Linked DNA regions of Homo sapiens: region 2 is linked to region 1. The links are contacts of gene promoters, found by promoter capture Hi-C in blood cells and fetal thymus (Javierre and others, 2016). All regions are on one chromosome and are shown on one strand. Each heading gives the region's core, a stretch centred on a gene start or on the middle of the fragment in contact. The rest is flanking DNA. Distances are from core to core; before and after follow the strand shown. Region 1 holds the start of FOXO3 (forkhead box O3). Region 2 holds the start of PDSS2 (decaprenyl diphosphate synthase subunit 2).

What was found. The method cuts DNA at HindIII sites, captures the fragments that hold promoters and counts their contacts. A CHiCAGO score of 5 or more calls a contact.
Region 2: a contact is called between the fragment with the promoter of PDSS2 here and the fragment with the promoter of FOXO3 in region 1, in 2 of 17 cell types (total B cells and fetal thymus). The highest score is 9.4, in total B cells.

Annotation. Positions count from the first base shown.
Region 1 is chr6:108,557,995-108,562,590 of GRCh38, reverse strand. It overlaps FOXO3 (forkhead box O3), which reads right to left and starts at 1,674. Exons shown (of 3, transcript NM_001455.4): 1 at 762-1,674. The coding sequence starts at 1,382. It overlaps LOC124901372 (a long non-coding RNA gene), which reads left to right and starts at 4,085. Exons shown (of 2, transcript XR_007059700.1): 1 at 4,085-4,427. RefSeq lists enhancers at 697-1,197, 3,840-3,899 and silencers at 1,641-1,860, 2,840-2,909, 2,950-3,309, 4,470-4,596. The HindIII fragment of the contact is 5,662 bases long and covers 553-4,596 here.
Region 2 is chr6:107,457,298-107,461,997 of GRCh38, reverse strand. PDSS2 (decaprenyl diphosphate synthase subunit 2) reads left to right here and starts at 2,434. Exons shown (of 8, transcript NM_020381.4): 1 at 2,434-3,008. The coding sequence starts at 2,713. RefSeq lists enhancers at 1,472-2,393, 2,114-2,563. The HindIII fragment of the contact is 2,928 bases long and covers 2,083-4,700 here.

The DNA of each region.
Region 1 (4,596 bases), core at 425-2,924:
AACAGTGCCTGAATCCAGGCCTCGGCGGGAGCAGCGGGTGCAGCCAGTCTGGATTGAGGTGGCCAGACCGGCCGGTTCGAGGCCCCAGAACATTTCAGAAGCAGCTAGTCAGAAGCAGGTTTACTGGAGCGACATCTCCGAGAAGAAAAGGTATCAATATAGGCAAGGAAAGGAAGCCGTCCAGGAAAAGGTTTGCAACCACTGCTTTTTCTAATCGGATCGATGTGCCTGTAGGTGTTAACACCCACAAGCTGAAACTTGGACCCGAAGGTTCTCATTCAGCTAGTGACGACGCAACATGCTCCTGCGACAGACTGGAAACCACACATCCAACCCCTCCTCCAGACACTGCGTCCCAAACACCCCCACACCTCTCACTCCAGCCACAGCGCCCGCACCAGACCCCCACTACGGTAAACTCTACTCCAAAGTTGGCTGCGGACCTACCTCCTCGGTGCTGTCCGGAGAATCCAGCAAATGTACTCCTGTCCGTTCGCCCTTCCCTCGCCGGCGTCCCCTGCCCCCTCTCCTCACCTGGCCATGCCCCAAGCTTCTGGGGAGCCTCATTCACCCCTCCGAGACCGTCCCCAGGTGCCCCGACTCCGGGGATCAAAGATAACCCCCAAAGCCTCGCAGCGGAGGCTCCCCCTGCCAACCCCTTGCCCTGGAGCCCGCAAGCGCACTCCGACGAATCCGAGACGCGTCTCGCGCTGCGCAGGAGGCCCGGCGGGTCCTGCTGCCAGCCCGGGGTGGGTACGCACCTTCCAGCCGGCAGAGCTGTTGCTGTCGCCCTTATCCTTGAAGTAGGGCACGCAACGCACCATCCACTCGTAGATCTGGGACAGAGTGAGCCGTTTGTCCGGGGAGCTCTCGATGGCGCGGGTGATCAGGTCCGCGTAGGACAGGTTTCCCCAGGCGTTCCGCCGCGACGAACATTTCCTCGGCTGCCCGGAGCCCCCAGCCGCCCCCGGCTGCGGCGGTGGCAGCGGTTGCTGAGGCTGCAGCAGCGCCTGTGTACCCCCGCTCAGCCCGCCCGCCGCGGTGGCTGGCCCAGACCCGGGGTCTTGCCCTCCGGGTGCCAGCACCCGGGCCGAGTCCTCAAGGAGCAGCCCGGAGCCCAGCGTGCCGCTCCCGCCGCCGCCGCCGATCGCCATGGCCGAGCCGGCCCGTCCCCCGCCGTCCTCGTCGTCTTCATCGTCCTCCTCCTCGGGGATCATGGAGTCGGCGGCCGTCTCCCCCGAGGGCTTGGCAGGGCTCGCTTGGAGCTCCGGCCTTTGCAGGGGCCACGTACAGGATCGCGGACGGCTCTGGGGCTCGAACTCCGGGTCCAGCTCCACTTCGAGCGGAGAGAGCGGGGCCGGGGAAGCCGGTGCCTCTGCCATCTTCGCCGCCCGCCCGCCCGCGGCTGGGGCTCTCGCGCTCTCCTCTCGCGCCGGGGCGGGGTGCAGCGGGGGAGGGACGTGGACGCCGCGAAGGCTCCGGCTCCCGGGCGCCGCCGCCGCCGCCTGGGGAAGCACCAAAGAAGAGAGAAGGAGAGTTGGTTATCCCGGGCCGGAGCCCCGTCCTCGGCGAGTCCTCGCCCGCTGCCGCCACCTCCCAGTCCTGCCGCGCCCGCCTCCCAGGAACAGGAGGACCTGAAGACGTGCGGCCAGCGAACCTGGCGCAGCAGACACCGCCCCCCGGCCAGGCCGCGATGGAGCCGCGAGCGAATCGACGGCCTCGCGCGGGGCAGCCCCCTCCCCCCGCCGCCCAGCCGCAGGTCCCTCCCGGGCTAGGCGGCGGGGCGGGGAGAAGGGGGAGGGGCGCCCGGGGGAGGGGCGGCCGCGCCTTTAAAGCGGGCAGCGGCCGGAGCTGGCGCAGCCGAGCCGCGGTCAGAGCCCGAGCTCGGGTGTGCGTGCGTTTGTTTATGTTTCGCTCGGGCCCGCTCTAGTGCCTCCCGCGGCGCCGCCGCTCAAGTCTGTGCTGTCTTCGGCTCTTCTCCCCTTTCCTAGCCTGGCCGCCTCCGCGACCCCCCGTCACCCCCCACCCGGTCGAATGGCCCGAGCCCGGGGACTGCGCGGGCAGCTCCCTCTCCCCTCTTCGCCCGCGGGCCAGAGGGCGAACGGGGGTCTGGGCGCAGATGGGCCCTTGTCACTTCCAAAAAATAAAGGAAAGACAGAAAGAAGGGGGAGCAGCAGCCCAGCGGGTGTTCGCAGAGGTTCGAGCCCGGCGGGGACGGCCACTTCGGGGTTTTGTGTGGTTTGCATTCTCGCGGACGTCGTCCCCTCCGCCCCCTTCCCAGTCGGGATCCGGGGGAGGGAGCGAGTCGGAACATAAATCTTCCAACAGGTCGGGAAGCGCCAAGTCTCCCGGGCTGCTAGAAAACCCGGACCAGCACGTTCATCACCTCCTTGCTCCCGCTGCTGCCATCTTGACAGTTTCCCCCTTCCCGAGTCCTTTAAAAACACTAGCGGGCGAGAAGGGGGGCGCGCACACCGCGGCTCAGGGAGGGGAAAGGGAAGCGCCCGGCCCAGCTCGGAAGCAGATCCGGAGTCACCGGGAAGGCGGCCGCCCGCTGCACGGCTCCGGCGCCTACCTCGCTTCCTTCCCTTCAGGGACGCGGCGGGACGACGCACGATCCCGCGCGGGCCCGGGGCACGGCGAGGAGGGGGCGCGCAACCTCGGCGAAGGAGAAGCGCTCGGGCCGTCGCCGCAGCCCGCCCGAGGAACCGCCTGTCAGCTCGCGCGCCGCCACCTTCCACATTCCTCCTCCTCCCTTCCACGAGCAGGGCGGCCGCGGCAGCAGCACAAAGTTATAGACACACGCAGGGCGCCTCAACCTAGGCTGACGGCGGGCGGGTCCCCGCCCAGGGGGAGGGCTGGGCGGCGGGCTGGGCGGCGGGCCGGGCGCGCGGCGGGCGTGCGTGTGTGAGTGCGCGTGTGTGAGCTCGCGCGCGCCTGCGCGGCCCGGCTCCGCGGGGCTGCGGGCGTGGGTGTCCGGGCGCGCGCCGTGGGCCGGGACTCGGCGGGCTCCCGCTGCTGTCCCCGCTGGGCTCCTCCTCCCTCCCGAGAGTCTCAACGACAACAAAGCGCGGCGCTGGCCCGGGAGAGGAGGGAGAAGGGGGGAGAAGGGAGGAGAGGAGGAAGAAGTGGGGAGAGGAGGGAGAAGGGGGAGCGGCAGGAGCGCACAGCCCCCGACGCTCCAAGGAGCGCAGCGGCGTGGCCTCCCTGACTCCGGGCAGGGCGCCTGGTACCAGGGGGTCCCTGGCCTGCGCGTCCGCCCGCCGGGCTCTGGGCCAGCCCCGGTGTCCGGTTCCCTGTTAGAACGCGACACCAGGTAACACCCGAGATAAGATGCTGGCCGCAAGATGGGCAGGGTTATCGCGGTGTGGAAATACTGAACGGCGAAGATGTTGGTGCCTGCACAACTTCGATAAGCTGATGCTCACAGATTCGATCAGGCACCAAAAGGTTTGCACTGAGTCTCTCACCTCGGACGGTGGACCACAGTCGTGTTTCACTTTTCATGGGTTTCATGGCAAACGGGGGAGAGGTGTAACTAACTCCGGAAGAAATGCAAATTTACCCCCGTCCTACATTCAAGAGCAGATTCCGAACAACTGAGAAGGGGAAATAATTTTAATCTAATTTGTAAATGACGACAAAACCGCTACGTGGGCATTTTTGACTTTTAAAAAAAGACGTATCCTTTAGGTTAAACGAAAAACATCTGCACAAGTCCTTATTCTACGATCCGTGCCCCAAATCGTTTATTTGTACTCTACGAATGCACCACACGCGACATGCACACCAAAAGTCTACACACTAGTTCATAAATATATTTTTTAAAAAATCCTTGTAAGTCACCGGAGATAGCTCAGAGTGTAGAAGCGGGCTCCTCAACGACCCCATACACAAAAAGGTCCAGCCCAGCGTACGCAAGAGCCAGCCCGCCCAGCCGCCTCCGGGCTCCGGGCTTTGCGCAGCGCCCGTCACTCAAGTGACGCGCGGCCCCGCCCCTGCACCAAGCTAGTTCGACGCGTACAAACAGATGATGTCATCGTATCCACACGCGCGTGACCCCGGAGCTCTCCGCCGCGTCGCCATTCGCTGCGCCGCTTACTCGTCAAGGCACGCCGCGCGCTGACTGGCCGCGGCCACCAGTCTCCAGGCCCCAGACGCCCCTCTCCGCCCCCCCGCCCCCGCCCCCCAGCAAATAATAAACAATCGAGTAAAATTCTAAGGAAGGAGAGAGAGGAGAGGGAAAAAGGGAGAGGGCGCACTAGAAACCAATCCTTCGCGCGCTGGCGGTGGGAGGGTTCAAGGGGGGACGCGAGAGGACAGCGGACGGGAGGAAGGCAGCCGACTTGGGGCGGTGGGTCTGCCAGCGAAGAGGAGGCGTCGGGGGAGGAAAGTTGCAGCGCACTCGACTGGGCGCGCCTGGCGGGGTAGGGGGCGCTAGGGCCCGGAGCGGCGGGGCTGGGGGCTCGGGGGCGGGGCGCGACCCGCCGAGGGGGCGGGGACTGAATGGCGCCGGCCGACACGTGCGGGAGGAGGGCGGGCGCGCGCCACACACACTGGGCCGGGGCGCGCGGCCCTGGTAGCCGCGCGCGCTTG
Region 2 (4,700 bases), core at 1,185-3,684, 1.1 Mb after region 1:
TGGCAGAGGAAGGGCAGAATCACAGATACTCCCCCTCCCTGTTTCTCCAAAAGTCACTAGCAATTCAGAAATTTCTTTAATCATAAAGACTCTAAGGAATTATATATTTATCTGGGAGATTAAAGAACAAATACCATTTTAACCTTCTAAAAACTGATTATCATTAAGTATAATGCAACCTTTTAACTGTAAGTATAAAGGAAAATGCTGATTATTTAAAGTAAATGGGACCCAAAGTCCCATGAATAATCAAAAACTTGGTTAATAGAGTATGACCAGAGAATAATGCACTTGGCTTCTGTGGAGAAATTAAAGTACATGCTGTGAATTGCTATTGAGGAAATTGCGTGAAAAGTTACCCTTAAGGTACCATGAGGCTGAAGAAACAGCCTCAGGTGCACAATATATCACATTAGTCTCTATCTATCTTTGTATTTTCATGACTTCTTTCACCTTGGATAACCCAGAAGCTCTGGCCTTGGAACTTTTTGGAATGGTAAAGTATCTCACTCTCCATATTTATTTTCATCTCCTGGAATGGTAAAGTATCTCACTCTCCATATTTATTTTCATCTCCTAACAGACCTGAATTTTGTTGCCAAGAGTTTATCTCTTTCACAGGAATTATTTTCAAACTTCAGCTTACTTACTTTAAGGGCATAGACTGTGTTTGATACTTATAATCACAATTCATGTTAAATAAAATGTGCCCCTGAAAAGTTACACCTAAACTGAATTTTTGTAAATAAAAAATTTAAATCACAAGGAAAACTTGCCAAAGGGAGAGTATGAAGCTAAATCTTTTGTAGAGAAAATCATCTTGTTTTGCAAAGTGAACAACTACTCTTTAAGTCCCAATCTTTATTTGTAGCTCAAGAGGCTGGTACAGTATTATGCATGATGCTCATTTAAAAAATACTGACAGGCTGGGCATGGTAGCTGGTAGCTCACACCTGTAATCCCAGCACTTTGGGAAGCCGAAGTGGGCGGATCACTCGAGGTCAGGAGTTTGAGACCAGCCTGGTCAACATGGTGAAACCCAGTCTCTACTAAAAATACAAAAGTTAGCCGGGCGTGGTGGCAGGCGCCTGTAGTCCCAGCCACTTGGGAGGCTGAGGCACAAGAATTGCTTGAAACTGGGAGGCGGAGGTTGCAGTGAGCTGAAATCGCGCCGCTGTACTCCAGCTTGGGTGACAGAGCAAGACCCATCTCAAAAAATAAATAAAAAATAAAAATAAAATACCATGAATTTGGAAGGATTTTGAAAGTTTTAGAGAGTTTTATAAGCTATTTTTAAGAGTGTAAAAAATGGATAATATATCCTTTATTAAGAACGGTTAACACCTGTTTTAGGTGATAAGAAAGGAGGTAAGATCTTAGGCACATTTGAAAAAAAAATAGGTAGCATTACTTAAAAGATAATCATATTGACTGTTTCCTCTCAGCAATAAGGAGAAAAGAGTGGATGGGAGCCTATTATTTAGACGGTGTAATCTTTCGGTTAGAATACGGATTCTGAAACCAGATTGTCTGGGCTCACATCCCTGTCTAGTGTGGTCTTAGGGAACTTACGCGACTCGACTGCACCTTAGTTTCCTCATACAAAACACGGAGAATACTAATATTATCTACTTAATGAGGTTGTTCTGAGGATTAAATAAAGTAATACATGAACTAGTACGTGAAAAGCACTCCGGTCAGCGATAGTCTTCAATCCTGGAGTTGAGCTCCAGGCTAGGCATAAAGAGGAAGATAAGAGGCAGGGAGTAGGCAACGTTTCATTCTTCCTCTCCGCACCCGCGGGAAGGAGGCACCGCTGTTTCTCCCAAGGCTCAGCGAGGAGGCCGGTAATTCGAAGTTGGATCCGAGGACTTTCCTTGGGACCCCTTTCCGCCGCACCACGCTGCCTTATGTCTGGTTGGGCCCTGAGGACACGAGGGCTCAGCCCCACGCCCCGACTAGGCGTTCCACCACTGAGACGTGGCCCCAGCTCCAGGAGGCATGCAGCCCGAGAGGCCGCCTTCACGCCCGGCCACGGCCACTGCCACTGCCAGGGGCTGGTGGCGATAGCGACAAAAAGCTTCCGGGAGGAACTGGTGCCTCCGCCCGACGCCCTTCCTTGCGGGCAAGCCGGGGGCTGACCGTTGTTCGTGACACCAATACTTATGCATGCCACTCAGTGCTGGGCGCCGGGGACTCTAATGAATCCAGACTCGGCCCAGATACCGTGTGCAGAGGGACCACTCGCCGCCCACAACTGATCCCTGTCACTGACGACCTTTGCTGGCCCAGAGCGGCGGGGTGGGAGGAGCTGAACCTCCCAACCCGGGTTCACCTCCAAAGCACCGCCCCTGCGGGGGCGTTCTCGGGTACGCCGTAAAGTAGAGAGTATACTTAACAACCCGCCTCTGTCTTTACGGCAGGCCGCATTCCATGCCTCCAATATGGCGTCCTCCACATAGGCAGTGGCTGTGGTTTCTACCCCGGGTGGCCGGGGGCAGTGCTGAGCTGGGACTGTTGTTTGCCCAGCCTGGGCTGCAGAAAGCAGCAGTTAAAGTTCGTTTCTGGTCACTGCTCCAGGAAGCCACCTTACTCTGAGGGTCAAGAATTGCCGCTTCCTTTTAGTTACTGTAAGTTCCTCCTCTGCCCCTGGTTTGTTTCCCGCGGCACTTCTGGATACCCCCAGGTCCCAGACCCTTCCAGACTCAAACCATGAACTTTCGGCAGCTGCTGTTGCACTTGCCACGTTATCTTGGAGCCTCGGGTTCCCCGCGTCGCCTGTGGTGGTCCCCGTCCCTCGACACCATCTCCTCGGTGGGCTCTTGGCGTGGTCGGTCCTCCAAGTCCCCGGCCCACTGGAATCAGGTAGTGTCAGAGGCGGAGAAGATCGTGGGGTACCCCACGTCCTTCATGAGCCTTCGCTGCCTGCTGAGCGACGAGCTCAGCAACATCGCTATGCAGGTGCGGAAGCTGGTGGGCACTCAGCACCCTCTGCTTACCACAGCCAGGTGAGCTACCCCTCTCCCGCTGACACACTCGCACTCATTGGAATACTTTTTTTTCTGGCGGGCATACGCATTCTAGCTCTCTCAGACTGGCTCCTGATTTATCTCTTTTTAGTCCTTCCTTTTTACTCACTCCTCCTAGACATTCCGTGTTGTCTCTTCTCTAGTCCACTTAACGTTCTTGCTCAGCTGAGTGCATAAGTGGTTTTCTTTGAAACACTTGTATGCTTTCCTCGATTTTGCTTCTTAATTGTTGAGGATGAAGATGCCTCAGTGATTTGTGGAGAAATCGAGCGGAGATGTAGGTTTATTGAGTCACTTCCTAGAAATTTTTTTTTTTTTTAATGGGATAGATTAATTTTCTGTCCCGCACTGTTCAGGGGGTCACCTCCAGAAAGTAGGCAAGGAGAGAGAGAGAGGCTGAAGGTAGATAATTCTTTCCAACGAATGTCTTGGGGTTGAAGTAGGAATTTATCCCGTTAGTAGTCATTATCTTCTTGGGATGTTTATCACTTATGCTGTACTACTGCTGTGAAACCTGCCTTTAGGATTTATAAAAGTTTTTTTTTTTTTTTTTTTTGAGACGGAGTCTCGCTTTGTCGCCCAGGCGGGAGTAGCTGGGACTACAGGTGCCCGCCACCACGTCCGGCTAATTTTGTTTTTGTATTTTTAGTAGATACGGGGTTTCACCGTGTTAGCCAGGATCGTCTCAATCTCCTGACCTCGTGATCCACCCGCCTCGGCCTCCCAAAGTGCTGGGATTACAGGCGTGAGCCACCGTGCCCGGCCAAAAGTTTTTTTTTTTTCTTCCACTTAAACCCCACACCTGAATTGTAATTAGTTTAAACATACAGCGAAGTTACAAAAATAATATAGTTCAAAGAACACACTTGCATACTCTTTAATCAGATCCACCTGCTACGTAGATATGTCTATATATGTCAATATATACATTAAATACATATACACACAGATATATATACTATTCACGTGTATATATCTTTCTATATATTTTTTTCTGAATCATTTGATGGTAGATTGCATACATCACGATCCTTTTCCCCTAAATACTTCAGTATGTATTTCCTAAGCATAGCAGTAATCTCCTACGTAAGTACGCTACAGTTACCAACTTAGGTATATTTAATATTGATACAATACTTTTATTTAATCTACCATTTAATTTCAATTTTGTTAATTGGCCTAATAATGTTCTTTATAGCATTCTTTACCCTCCAGGACAGGATTCAGTCCAGGATCAAGTATTGCGTTTAGTTGTTATATCTCTTTCATCTTCTTCAATTAGGAACATTTTCATATCTCTTCTTGGCTTTTATGACTAGAGCACTGGTTCTCAACTGGGGCAATTTTCCCCCCCTGAGGACATTTGGCATGTATGGAGACATTTTTGGTTGTCACGAATGGAGGCACATTACTGGCATTTAGTGGATAGAGGCCAGGGATGCTACCCTTCAATTCCCAGGACAGACCCACAAGAAATAATTAGGTGCTGCAAAATGTCAGTAGTGCCAAGGTGGAGAAATCCAGGACTAAAAGGACCTTTTTCTATTGTTGTTTTTAAAAGTAAACTTCTATTTTGAAGTAGTTTTAGATTTACATGCAGTTGGAAGAAATAACACAAATCTAATATACACCTAACCCTGTTTCTCCCAATGGTAACATCTTTTGAAACGA